Linked DNA regions of Homo sapiens: region 1 is linked to region 2. The links are contacts of gene promoters, found by promoter capture Hi-C in blood cells and fetal thymus (Javierre and others, 2016). All regions are on one chromosome and are shown on one strand. Each heading gives the region's core, a stretch centred on a gene start or on the middle of the fragment in contact. The rest is flanking DNA. Distances are from core to core; before and after follow the strand shown. Region 1 holds the start of TMEM185A (transmembrane protein 185A). Region 2 has its middle 67 kb from the start of FMR1NB.

Region 1 (5,619 bases), core at 957-3,456, 1.6 Mb after region 2:
AAAAGACCTTTAAACTTTTCAGGTAGAAATACATTTTAATGCAGGTAGAATTAAGAGATTGATGAATATGTTGAGAATTACTATAAATCTGCTTAGATACCAGGTATTTCACTGTAATTTCATATACTAATTTTTTTGGGGGGAAAAGGGCTAAAGGAAAAAACGGTTAAAGGTAGTATCAGTGCAGCACTATTTTGCTTTGGCAACTCCGTTAGCCTGTTTGATCACTTAAGGCAGTTTCTTGAGGCTTCTGAATTCTCTGTCACCTTGCAAACAAGTCACTGTAGCTTTCTATTTGTAAGGCACTTTGTAATCAATCCTTAATTGGCCTCCCTACCCCACTGAGAGATTATACTCATTCTACAGATAAAACAATAGATAAGTGAGTTGCCCAAGGGCACAAAACAATTCAGTTTTTACTTAACTTTCTTATCACCATCTCCAAATAGAAGACATACAGGGCTTGTCCAGCCACAGCACCAACCCTACTACCCTGCAGACCAATCTTAACCCCCTGATGCAGCAGAGGAAGGGACTGCAGTTAGTTCTGTTACCTCCTCTATGCCTTCGAAGCCAACAATGATAATGTCTGCACCGTGTTAGAGACACTGGCACTCCTAACCAGAACATGAACTCAAAGTGGAATAAGAGCACATACAAAGTCACAATGACTCACAAGTTAAAATGTCACCATCCCTAGGGAGACTGCACCCTCAACATACAAATACTCCCCTAAAACTTCCTTTCATCCTCAACAAGCAGCCAAGGCATAGGTCCCCAGAGTTGGCCCCCGCAGTACAGCACTGCACAGTACTGTAAGGCATCTTAAGTGTACAAGCCCTTCTTCACCCCATGCTGAGACCGCCAGCATCTAAAGCACCTAACATAGGTTACAGCACACAAATATTTACTGAGCACGTCTTCCCAACTGGCAAATAAGGGAAACGGATACTCCTTTCGGAGAGTAGTGCATTTAAGAGATCAGTTAGGCCAACTCCTCATTTTACAGAAGGGCCAAAGAAGGGCAGAGAATCACCCAGTTACATATGGCCTCGTCTCCAATCCAAGTCTTTGGGCTCAGTTTAGTTCCACAAACATTTTATATGTGCCTACTATGTGCCAGATACGGTGGGTGGGAGGCGCTGGGGACACTGAGATGAGCAGGAGATGGTCTCAGCTTCAGGGAGCTCACAGCCTGGGGTAAAGAACAGTTACAAAACAGTCGGGCAAGTGCAAGGACAGGCGCTTGAGTGCTTAGCCAGTGTTTTCTCCACACTGTCCACTGGGTGTTCCCCATCTGGAAAAGAAGGACAGCAATATCTACTTCCTGCAAATAAACTTGTAGTGAAGACTGATGAGAAAATGAGTATGGAAAATGATCAGGCTCACCCAGAAATGCATTATATAAGGTATTGCCATACCCCGACACTGACTCCAAGGATTCAACAGTGTTTCAGGTATCCGTTCAACAAAGAAGCAAACAAGAGAGGGATGGGCATAAACCCAAGGAAAACCCCAAGGACTGCGAGGAACTGGAGGAAACAGCTGGGGTGGGGGTAGGGGTGTTGGGTCGAGTGAGACGGCCCTGACGCGGAGAATGGAGGGCCCGCAGCGGCGCAGAAGAGGATGGAACCGAGACGAAGAAGTTGGGACACCAATGAGGGACAGCAAGCAGAAAAGAATGGGGTTCCCTTGGGGCAGGACGGGGCTCGCGGCCGGGCCCTTCCGGCCGTGGCCGGGCAGGGGCTGAAAGCACCGGGCACGGGAGGAGGAAGCGGGCGGGCGCCGAGGCCGACTGTTTTGCCTGGGGACCGCTTGCACCCGCAGGGAGGCTCGGGCAGGCGCCCGGGTCCTCGGGCTGCAGCATCTCGCCCGCCGTGCCTCCCCGGAGCCGAACACCAGCCCGCGCCCGAGCCCGCAGCGCGGACTCCCGGGGGCGCCAACGACGCCGCCTCACCTCGGGTTGAAGTCCTGGAAGAGGCCCCTCAGGTTCATGGCGGAGAACTTCACCGCGGCGTCCTCCTCCTCCTCCCCCGCACCCCGTGCTGCACAGCCTGCGCCTTACAGCGGGTTCATGGCGCCAGCGCCAGCCGCGTCCACGCTGCTGCTCCCGCTACTGCTGCCGTCCCCGCTGCCGTCGCCGTCGCCGTCGCCGCCGCCGCCGCCGCCGCCGCCGCCGCCGCCGCCGCCGCCGCCCGGAGAAACCTGAGCCACCGCCCCCTGCCCCTCCTTCCGGGCTTCCGTACGAGGGCCGCGCATGCGTCCGGAGCCCCGCCCAGAGCGCTCCTCGCTGGGAGGTCCCCATCCTTGTGTCCGCACGCGACCGGCGGAGGAGATGGCAGGGGGATGGAGGCTGGGAGTGAGCAGGGCCCCGAGGAAGGGGATGCTGACGGGCTGAAGGCCTGCAGGGAGGGAGCGCGCCGCCCGGGAGTCTGGCGGGCAGATCTTGGCAGACACCTGTCACCTTGGCCCGCGCTACCTTCTGGAGATTTTCCCCAGTGACGACTGAGCCCTGGGAGTAGTGACAATGAGTGAGACGTTGCATTTTTGGCGATGTCATCCCAGGCTTCACCTGTCACATCTGTCAACGACTCCAAAGTTTGGGTCCCAACTTCCCTTCCAATTCCCAAGCCAGCGTGTCCAGATATGCTGGCTATTCCCTACTCAAGTTACCTAGCACCAAAGTCACTTCCCGTGCCAACCGCCTTCCCCTCCTGGGTTCCCTTTTTCCCTTAGCAGCAGGCCTATTCGTACGCAGGGGGGTATTCAAGCAGGAGACGTGGAAATCATCCTCATTTTTCTAACCCAGTTCAGAGCCTCCTTGGATCCTGTCTAAACTTTGTGGTCACTTCACACCTGACCTCTGCCTCCACTCCAGGCTGCCCTACTTACAAGTACCAGGTTCATCTTCCTTGGGCAAGTCAACATCTTTGAGTCTCAGTTTTTCTCCTCCGCAGAATGGAAATGATAAAAACCTCTTTTCTAAGCGTGTTAGGAAGATTCAGTGAGATCGTGTGCATAACACACTGCCTGGTACATGCTAGGTGTACAAAGAATGCTGTTGCTATCTGGTACTCTTTCAGGTGTCAACCTCCTCAAGGATTTTGTTTGCTTTTGGAATCCAAGAGCAGGACAAGCTCATAGCAGGTGACCTAGTTTACCATCTTCACTTTGGGCAGATTTAAGTTTTCATGAGCACAACAATGCCTTAAACATTAGTCTACTATCATTATGGATAATAGTCATCCTTTGTTGCAATAGCAGAGTTTCACAAATGACAATTTTATACTGTTTAGCCCCAAGGGCAGCTTGAGAGAATCACAATTGCGATAGTCATACTTAGTCTTGATGTATCACCTTTCTTCTGAGAACGTAAAAACATATCATAAGTGGTAATTAAGCTTCCCAACACCCACTGGGAAATGGATATTATTATATGAGCTGATTTTAAGGTTGAGTAATCCAAATCAAGTTTTCATCTGCTGAAGCACCAGGACCCTGTCCCAGACTTTTTCACCCATCTTCCTTTCCCATCCTCTGGGTAAAGTCCAATGTGTAGCCCAGAGGAGGTTCTCAATGAACACTCAAATACAGACGAGGAATTAAGGCGCAGAGAAGCTTGTATAACAGGCCCTGAGCGAGCCAGCAAGTAAGGGTGAAGGAGCACAGATGAAACTCAGGGTCTAGCTGAACCTGCAGCCCATACTGTTAGAAAGAGGTGCTTGCCAGTGGTCAGATTGGACAGCACCATCTTCATTACCAGTGACCGTGCCCCAAGCAGGCATGAGAAGATGGTCTGCCAGTTCAGACACTTGAATAACAGGCATCACTGCCCTTTCAAGAGCTTCATAGATAGAGACCAGGCAGGCTCCTCAGAGTCCAGAATCTTGAGGGCAGACGCTACTTTAATGAGATCCCAGGGAGTCTGGGAGCTGAACCACTGCTCTGCAGGCCCACAAGTTCAATTTTAGCAGTTCTTCCAGAGTTGACCAGGCCCTGGAAGCTATCTAGCAAAGGCAACAGGACACTGATGCACAAATTACTTGTCAGTGTGTTCTTTTGCTCTGACAAGGTAAATTGCCAAGAGGAACATATGAACCTGTCTGTGAGGAAATACAGGAAGAACTGGACTTTCCCAAGGCTTCACATCCCCAGTCTTCAAGAGGTGGATTACCTGGACTGATTCTGGAAGCCCAACCCTTTATGCTACTGGTGCTCTCATGGGGAAAAAAAAGCCAGAAACCAGATGGCCATCTGGTCCTCTCTCCAGCAAGTGCAAAAGACCCTACTGACAACCTGCTGCTCACTTCAGAGCCCTCACTCAGTGTCCCACCCTAGATGGAGGTCCAAAGCCTCAATGACCTGTGTAGACAGACCCACAAGTGATCCTGACATTAAAGAAAGACCCTGGGTCATATGCAGGCACCAGGAGTGCTGGGAAGCTTAATTACCACTTATTAAATGTTTCTACATTCTCAGAAGAAAGGTGATACATCAAGGCTAAGTATGACTAGTGGAGAAGATGACACCCACATCTTCTCCACTAGCAGAGTTTGACTTTATCTTTTCCTTGACTTGCCAAAAAATTCCAGGGCTATCTTGCTAGGGGCTCCCAACATTCTTCACTCAAAGGAAAGAAATGGCTCTGGATTGAAAAAGTATGACCCCCAAATAAGCCAGACAGCATATTCTTGGTGACTTTGGGGTGGGCTTAGGTTACAGTGTTCCAGAAGAATCAGTGTATATCTGACCATGGTTTTAAGGACTAACTTGGATTTGTACCACCCTTCTGATAAGCTGGTGGCTTGTCCAATTCAATATTCACATTGGCTTCAATGTGGTGATATAGGATGCCTCTCCTCTGAAGAGCAAGGCACTGGTGAAGAGAATCCTGGTGAATTTAGACACTTGGACTGGGGAGACCTGGCATAGGGGAAGAAAATGGCCGTGGAACCGCCCTCCACACACCACCAAGGCTCCTTCCCTGGCTGCAGCAGTAGAATGGAGAGAGTGTGGAATTAGTAGATTTGAACTCAACACCAGTTTCACCCTTGCTCCAGTGGAGGGAGGGCCAGCTGGGATCCAGTCCCGTGCAAGGCCTATGGGACTATAAAGAGCTTCTCGGAGGTCAGATTGACAAGTTCTTTAGCCAGGAAACATGGAGGTGCCAGCCTGCAAGGCTTTCTTAGCCTGGAATTCCTCACCCTAGGTTCCCTAAAGTCCACACTTTGAATGCCACCAATTAGAGAATTGCTGAAGATGCTGGGAATTAGTCCACCTGCAGAATGCAATCTCCTGCTTCCTGACAGAACCCTTTGTTTCAGGCAACTTTAGCCTAACTTGGATACACATCTGAGATCTCCCTGGGAGGTGGGTGGGTCTGGAGTCTAGACAGGGATTTGATTAAATACGGGGCTAGATTTAGGGGCTTGGAGAACTGGAGGAGGAGATTGCAGGGAGGCAACTGAAGGGACCACAGAGGTAGTAGCTGTAGTTCTGCTTGGACTTGCAGCAACCCCTATGGCCTTCCAGAGCCCAGAAGGAGCCACCTCCTCAGGGAGTCTTCCCTCAGGTAGGCAAATTACAGTTACTGAGAGAGAAGAGGGAGGGAGGACAGTC
Region 2 (5,483 bases), core at 2,243-4,742:
TGAAAGTAGAATTTTATTAAATATCTTTTCTGCATCTAGTGAGGTGATCATATGATTTTCTGTCCTTTTTTCCTGTTAATATAGTAAATTATAAGTTAAATGAATTAATTTTCCATAAGCTTCATGTGGTTGTGATATATTAGCATTGTTAAATATCACTAAGTTAGATTTACACACACACACACACACACATTATTAATGTGATTTTTATTTCTTGGAATGTCCTTTACAAGTTTTGGTTTTGGTGGCTTCATAAAACAAGATGAGAAGTGTTCCATGTTTTCTCTCTCTTTTTTTTTTTTTGGAAGTATTCGTGTAAGATTAATGTTATTTACTCTCCAAGTGTTGGAAACACTTTGTCAGTGAAGCCATTTAAGCCTGGAGTTTTACTTTGTGGTGAGGTTTTTAATAACAGGTTTCAGTTCTTTCATAGATCTAGGACTATTTATTTTTGTTTCAATTTTATTGAGTTGTGTTTCTTAAAGAATTTGTCCACTTTCTCTAAGGCTGCTTCTACCCTAACTCCCTTGCTCTTCTTTTCTTAGGTCCCCCAACTACACTTATATTAGTCTTTCCCACTATTATATATATATATATCTTACAACCTTTTCAGCAATATCAATGCTTTTTACTTCTACACTTCATTCTAGATACTATCTAGTGCACTAATTCCATTTTCAACTTTGCCCAATCTGCTGTTAAATCCATCTGTTGAGCTCTTAATTTTAGCTATTTTATTTCCTGTTCCAGACTTCCATTTGGCTTTTTATTGTAGATTCCAATTCTGTGGAACCTGTTCATCACAATTATTTTAAAGTCTTGGTCTGATAACTCCAATATTACCTGTTTCTGTTTCTAGCCTCTCTCTTTTTCTCTTGCTCCTATTTATTTGTATGTCAGTAATTTTTACTGAATAGATCAAGAACGTGAAGGATTAGACCCTCCTCCTCCCTGCCTATTTCTGACCCAAGAGATGAGGCCTAAACTGAGATTGAAGAGAAGATTTGAATTCAGAATGAGATTGAAGTTTTGATTTAAACTCTGAAAAGCTTTAATACCTGAAAAGAAGATTGTTTTAAAAAATGAAAGTGCTTATGTTTCTCTTATTGTTTCTTCAGAGTTTAAAAGAATACAACTCTTTGTCATATAAAAAATGGTTTTGACTGAATGCCCAACATTGTGTATGAAACATATAGAGACTCCAGATCATGTTATCTTCCTTCAGAGGATATTGCCTTTTCCTCTGTCAGGCAGCAGAGAATTAGATAAATGTAATTCAACTTGGGGCTTTGCTAACTGAAAGCTAATTTGCGGTCTTTGTATGTCCCAGTTTGCTTCTGGTTTACTCCCACTTCTAGGGCGTAGCTCTCTAGGAGTTCCAACTAAGAATCAGGGTTGTTTGTTGGAACTCCTCCTACTTATAAGGTCATGAACTCCAATTTTTCACCCTCGAACATTGTGAGCCTGCTTGCTTGCTCTACTTTGTTGATGCTTTCTGATTGGCTTCTTACCCTAATTTTCTGCACAGTTTAAACTGTAAATGCCTCTAGAAGAACACTGGTTCCAAGCGCTAGGTTCTATTCTCTGTCCCTTCTATCTCTCTGAGAGCTTGGTCTCTCAACACCTAGCTGCATTGTCCACTGAACACTTTTAATCTCCCCAGCCCCAAGAGGTGACCTAAAACTGCTCTGCTAAATTCTTTATCTCATTCTCCATGCCAAAAACATCAAGGAGGAAAATAAGTGTCCATGAAGTAAGCTCACCTTAATGAGCTCCCTTCTTTCTGGATCTAGTTTCTCAAGTCCTGGCTACCTTAGTAGCCTTCTTATTTCTTCTCAAAAAATGTTTATAAAAACCTGCCTTTTCTACTTTTTCTTGTTAAAATATTCATCTCTACTACAAGCTACTCAATCATAGAAGACCTCTGAACTCATGATTAAAATACGTGCATGCGTGTGTGTGTGTGTGTGTGTGTGTGTGAGTGTGTGTGTATGTATTTCTATCTCTGTTCATTGATTGACTGGATATAGGAGTAATGACCCTGTAGTAGCATACATACCTAACACCAAGATATTTGTTTCTATGCATCATTTCTTACTTAAACTAATCAGGTTTCTTTGGAGAAACTACTGATTTCAGTGAAAGTACAAGCACAATGTGAGCCTAGATATAGATATCTTGCTATACCAGTGATATGGTTTGGCTATGTCCCCACCCAAATCTCATCTTGAATTGTAGCTCCCATAATCCCCACATGTTGTGAGAGGGACCCAGTGGGAGGCAAATGAATCATGGAGAAGGGTTTTTTTTCCCTGCTGTTCTCATGGTAGTGAATAAGACTTACAAGATCTGATGGTTGTATAAAGGGCGGTTCTCCTGCACATGCTCTCTTGCCTGCTGCCATGTAAGACATACCTTTGCTCCTCCTTTGCCTTCCACCATGATTGTGAGGCCACACCAGCCATGTGGCACTTGAGTCCATTAAACCTCTTTTTTCTTTATAAATTACCCAGTCTCGGGTATTTCTTCATATCAGTATGAAAATGGATTAATACAACCAGAAAGTAAGAAAGTGATCAGAGAATGATGGGGACATTTCATAAGGACACAGGAAGCAACTTGAAGGGACACCCACTGGCCAAGTCTGGGATAATTTAAACATAAAAAAAATTTGGTAATAGTTTATAGTACATTGAGTTAAGAAAAAAAAATCCATAAATTCATGGTAATATTCAAAGTAAAATAAAAGGAGAGGAGAAAAAAGAATTCCCAGTGTGTTTTTTTTAAAACAGAAGAATGCCAGCTACTAAATGTAGAAGGAATAAAATAATTAGAAAAGCAATACTTTTTAACACCCAAAGTAATAATTGGCTCAGGTAAGGATCATCAGAGGATGCTAATATGACTGGGTAAAATGTTGAAAATAAGTCTCAAAATATCACTCTACAGACTACTTTTAAAGAGAAAAAATGTGCTTTCTCAATGGAAAAGTCTGGTGGTCATCACTTTAACCAAGTGGTCAAGCTTGGCAATGCCAATAGTGGTTTTGCTTGATGATGTGCCTTCAGTATGATCAAGAGGAAGGTACACAACGTCATTTATGTGATGTTCTTGCTGGAAATGTTTGATCTAACTATCATAGCGAGGAAAGAGGCAATTCTAGAATGTGAGGTATGATGGAGGACATCCTACCTGGACTCTTTAAAGAGACACTCAAATGCTCTGAGTGAATCTTGAGTGGATCTTGGATTGGAAAAACAGAAGCTATAAAGGATATTTTGGAGGATAATCGAAGGAATTTTAGTGAAGACTGGATGCTGGATGATATTGAATTCATGGTGACTTTCTTAGGTGTGTTGGTATTGTGGTTATAGGAATCAGTTTATTCTTGGAAAATACATCCTGAAATATTTTGCAGTGAAGTGTCATGATGAAAGCAACCTACTTTTGTATGATTTGGAAAAAAAGGATGTGTGGGTATGGGTGTGTATTTAGATAAATAGAGTGGATGTATCCAGATGTTAACAGTTGGCAAACATAGGTGAGAGGTATGCAGGTCTTGAAAATTAGAAGAAAAAACTCTTGTAGCGTTTTATTTTTTCAACGAAAATCCACAAGATGGCAGTAGAGGAACACCCTCAGAATGGGTTTCTTGGGGGCCTCTTATAAGGTGACATTTTCTGATTTGAAAAGCAGGATGAGAGATCCAACAAAGGATTGTTTTGGCTTTGTGAATACATTTACATGTAATGTTATACAAAGGTATGAAGACAAAATGCCGTTTGGTTGTATCATTCTATGAATTGCTTTCATCGAAATAAATACCATTTTGTTAAATTTGGTCCATAAACTCCTGAAATGTGTCCAAAATGTTATGTGTATGAGCATTCTCCTTTTATGATGAGAATATCTACAGTTTCTACTATGTCTCAAAGGGGTCAATTATTGCTCCCCAAACTTAGAAGCTTGAGGGGTTCAAGAAAGTGGCACTAGATCAATGCCTTAATCACATCAGAACTGGTAGTAGTTTAAGCCATTTCTCTTTAATATGTGCTTTGAAAGTGAGTTTAGTGAAGTGCTCTGGCAGTGCTTATTTGTTAAATGGATTGATGTAGGAACTAGTGGATGTGGATGGATAGGAGTCAGAAGACCTGGGTGTGAATGTAGCACTTATGCCATCCTCTTCCCCAACATCTTTCCCCAAACACACACACCAAGTTAAAACTGTAGCCAGCAAGATGTTTGTGGTCACATAAAACAATTCTCCCCCAAACAAAATCAGTTGTTTGCCTGTATTTCATTTTTTTACTCCCCAAACAGAAACAGCTTATTGGTCAGTGGAGATGCCTGCAATATAAAATTTTCTCTTTATAAACATTTGTGAAAAGAGTTCATATTTTTAGGGCAACATGAGCCAAGCTTGTAATTGCGGGAAGCTTCTAGTCTTCTGTGAGTGTCAGCTTGCCTCTTGTTCCCACCTTCAACCCCTGCCACCCCAAGAGTTTTGGTTTGGATCAGGACTAGGTTTCTATAAACTGCAACGTGAGCTGCTAGGTGATCACAGTAAGAGCCAAGCCACATAATGCTCTTCTTTCGATTCATTGGGCAGATAGTTGTCTTAGAAACTTACATGATGACTTGATTGTAAAATAAAATCCCTGTTGAGCAACTTGATCTGGCTATTTGGGTGGAATGGATTTTTTTAAAAGTGTAAACTAAGGGAAAATAAAATACTCATTTAAAATGTGTTGGCAGCGTGTAGTTGGCTTAAAATGTCATTTACTGAGTTGTTACCATTTTTGCTCTCTCAATTTTATTAGTATTAAAAATTCATTATTGAGGGACCATGAGCTACATGCAATTAGTAATGTGACTGAAAGTGAGAGACTAAATAGTAAGATGGTCATGTCTTTAGAAATAAACTTTTAACTTCTCTTTACTGCATTCCCCATGGAAATACCATGTTGTGCCATGTTGTTCCTTAAAAGAGCTTACGTTCAGTAGAGAACTGGTGAAATAAATAATGACACATTCATATATTGAGATTGTATGTAACTGTTGAAAATAATGACATAGATTCATATATATTGACATGGAAAGATATCCAAGCTGAACTGTAGGAGAAACAGAGCAAGTTGCAGAGCTATATGTAAAGCAGAATACTATTTTGGAGTATACATTTGCTATTATATGTTCAGAAAATAAGATATGGGAGATCATATAAAAATTTGCTTAAAGCGATTTATTTATGTTGTGGGGAAAGGAGTAGTATTGTAGTACAAGGGAACTTATGTTTTGTGTTTCATATGTTTTTCTGTTGTCTGGATTTTTAAAAATGAGAATGTAGTCTGAATAAATAATGATATAAAGGGAGTGTATGTTGGCACTATCCTTTGAGACCTTCATGTGCTAAATATAATTGTGCAGTATGATCAGTTCTGTCATTCATCTTGAATAGACAACAGCTAAAGAGAGCCAGCTGG

What was found. The method cuts DNA at HindIII sites, captures the fragments that hold promoters and counts their contacts. A CHiCAGO score of 5 or more calls a contact.
Region 1: a contact is called between the fragment with the promoter of TMEM185A here and a fragment that was not itself captured in region 2, in 1 of 17 cell types (M1 macrophages). The highest score is 6.0, in M1 macrophages.

The regions. Positions count from the first base shown.
Region 1 is chrX:149,629,586-149,635,204 of GRCh38, forward strand. TMEM185A (transmembrane protein 185A) reads right to left here and starts at 2,207. Exons shown (of 7, transcript NM_032508.4): 1 at 1,958-2,207. The coding sequence starts at 1,995. RefSeq lists silencers at 1,700-1,749, 1,760-2,169. The HindIII fragment of the contact is 7,464 bases long and covers 1-3,399 here.
Region 2 is chrX:148,046,014-148,051,496 of GRCh38, forward strand. No RefSeq gene overlaps it. Among named protein-coding and RNA genes, the nearest start is that of FMR1NB, 67 kb to the left of the region's middle. The HindIII fragment of the contact is 941 bases long and covers 3,023-3,963 here.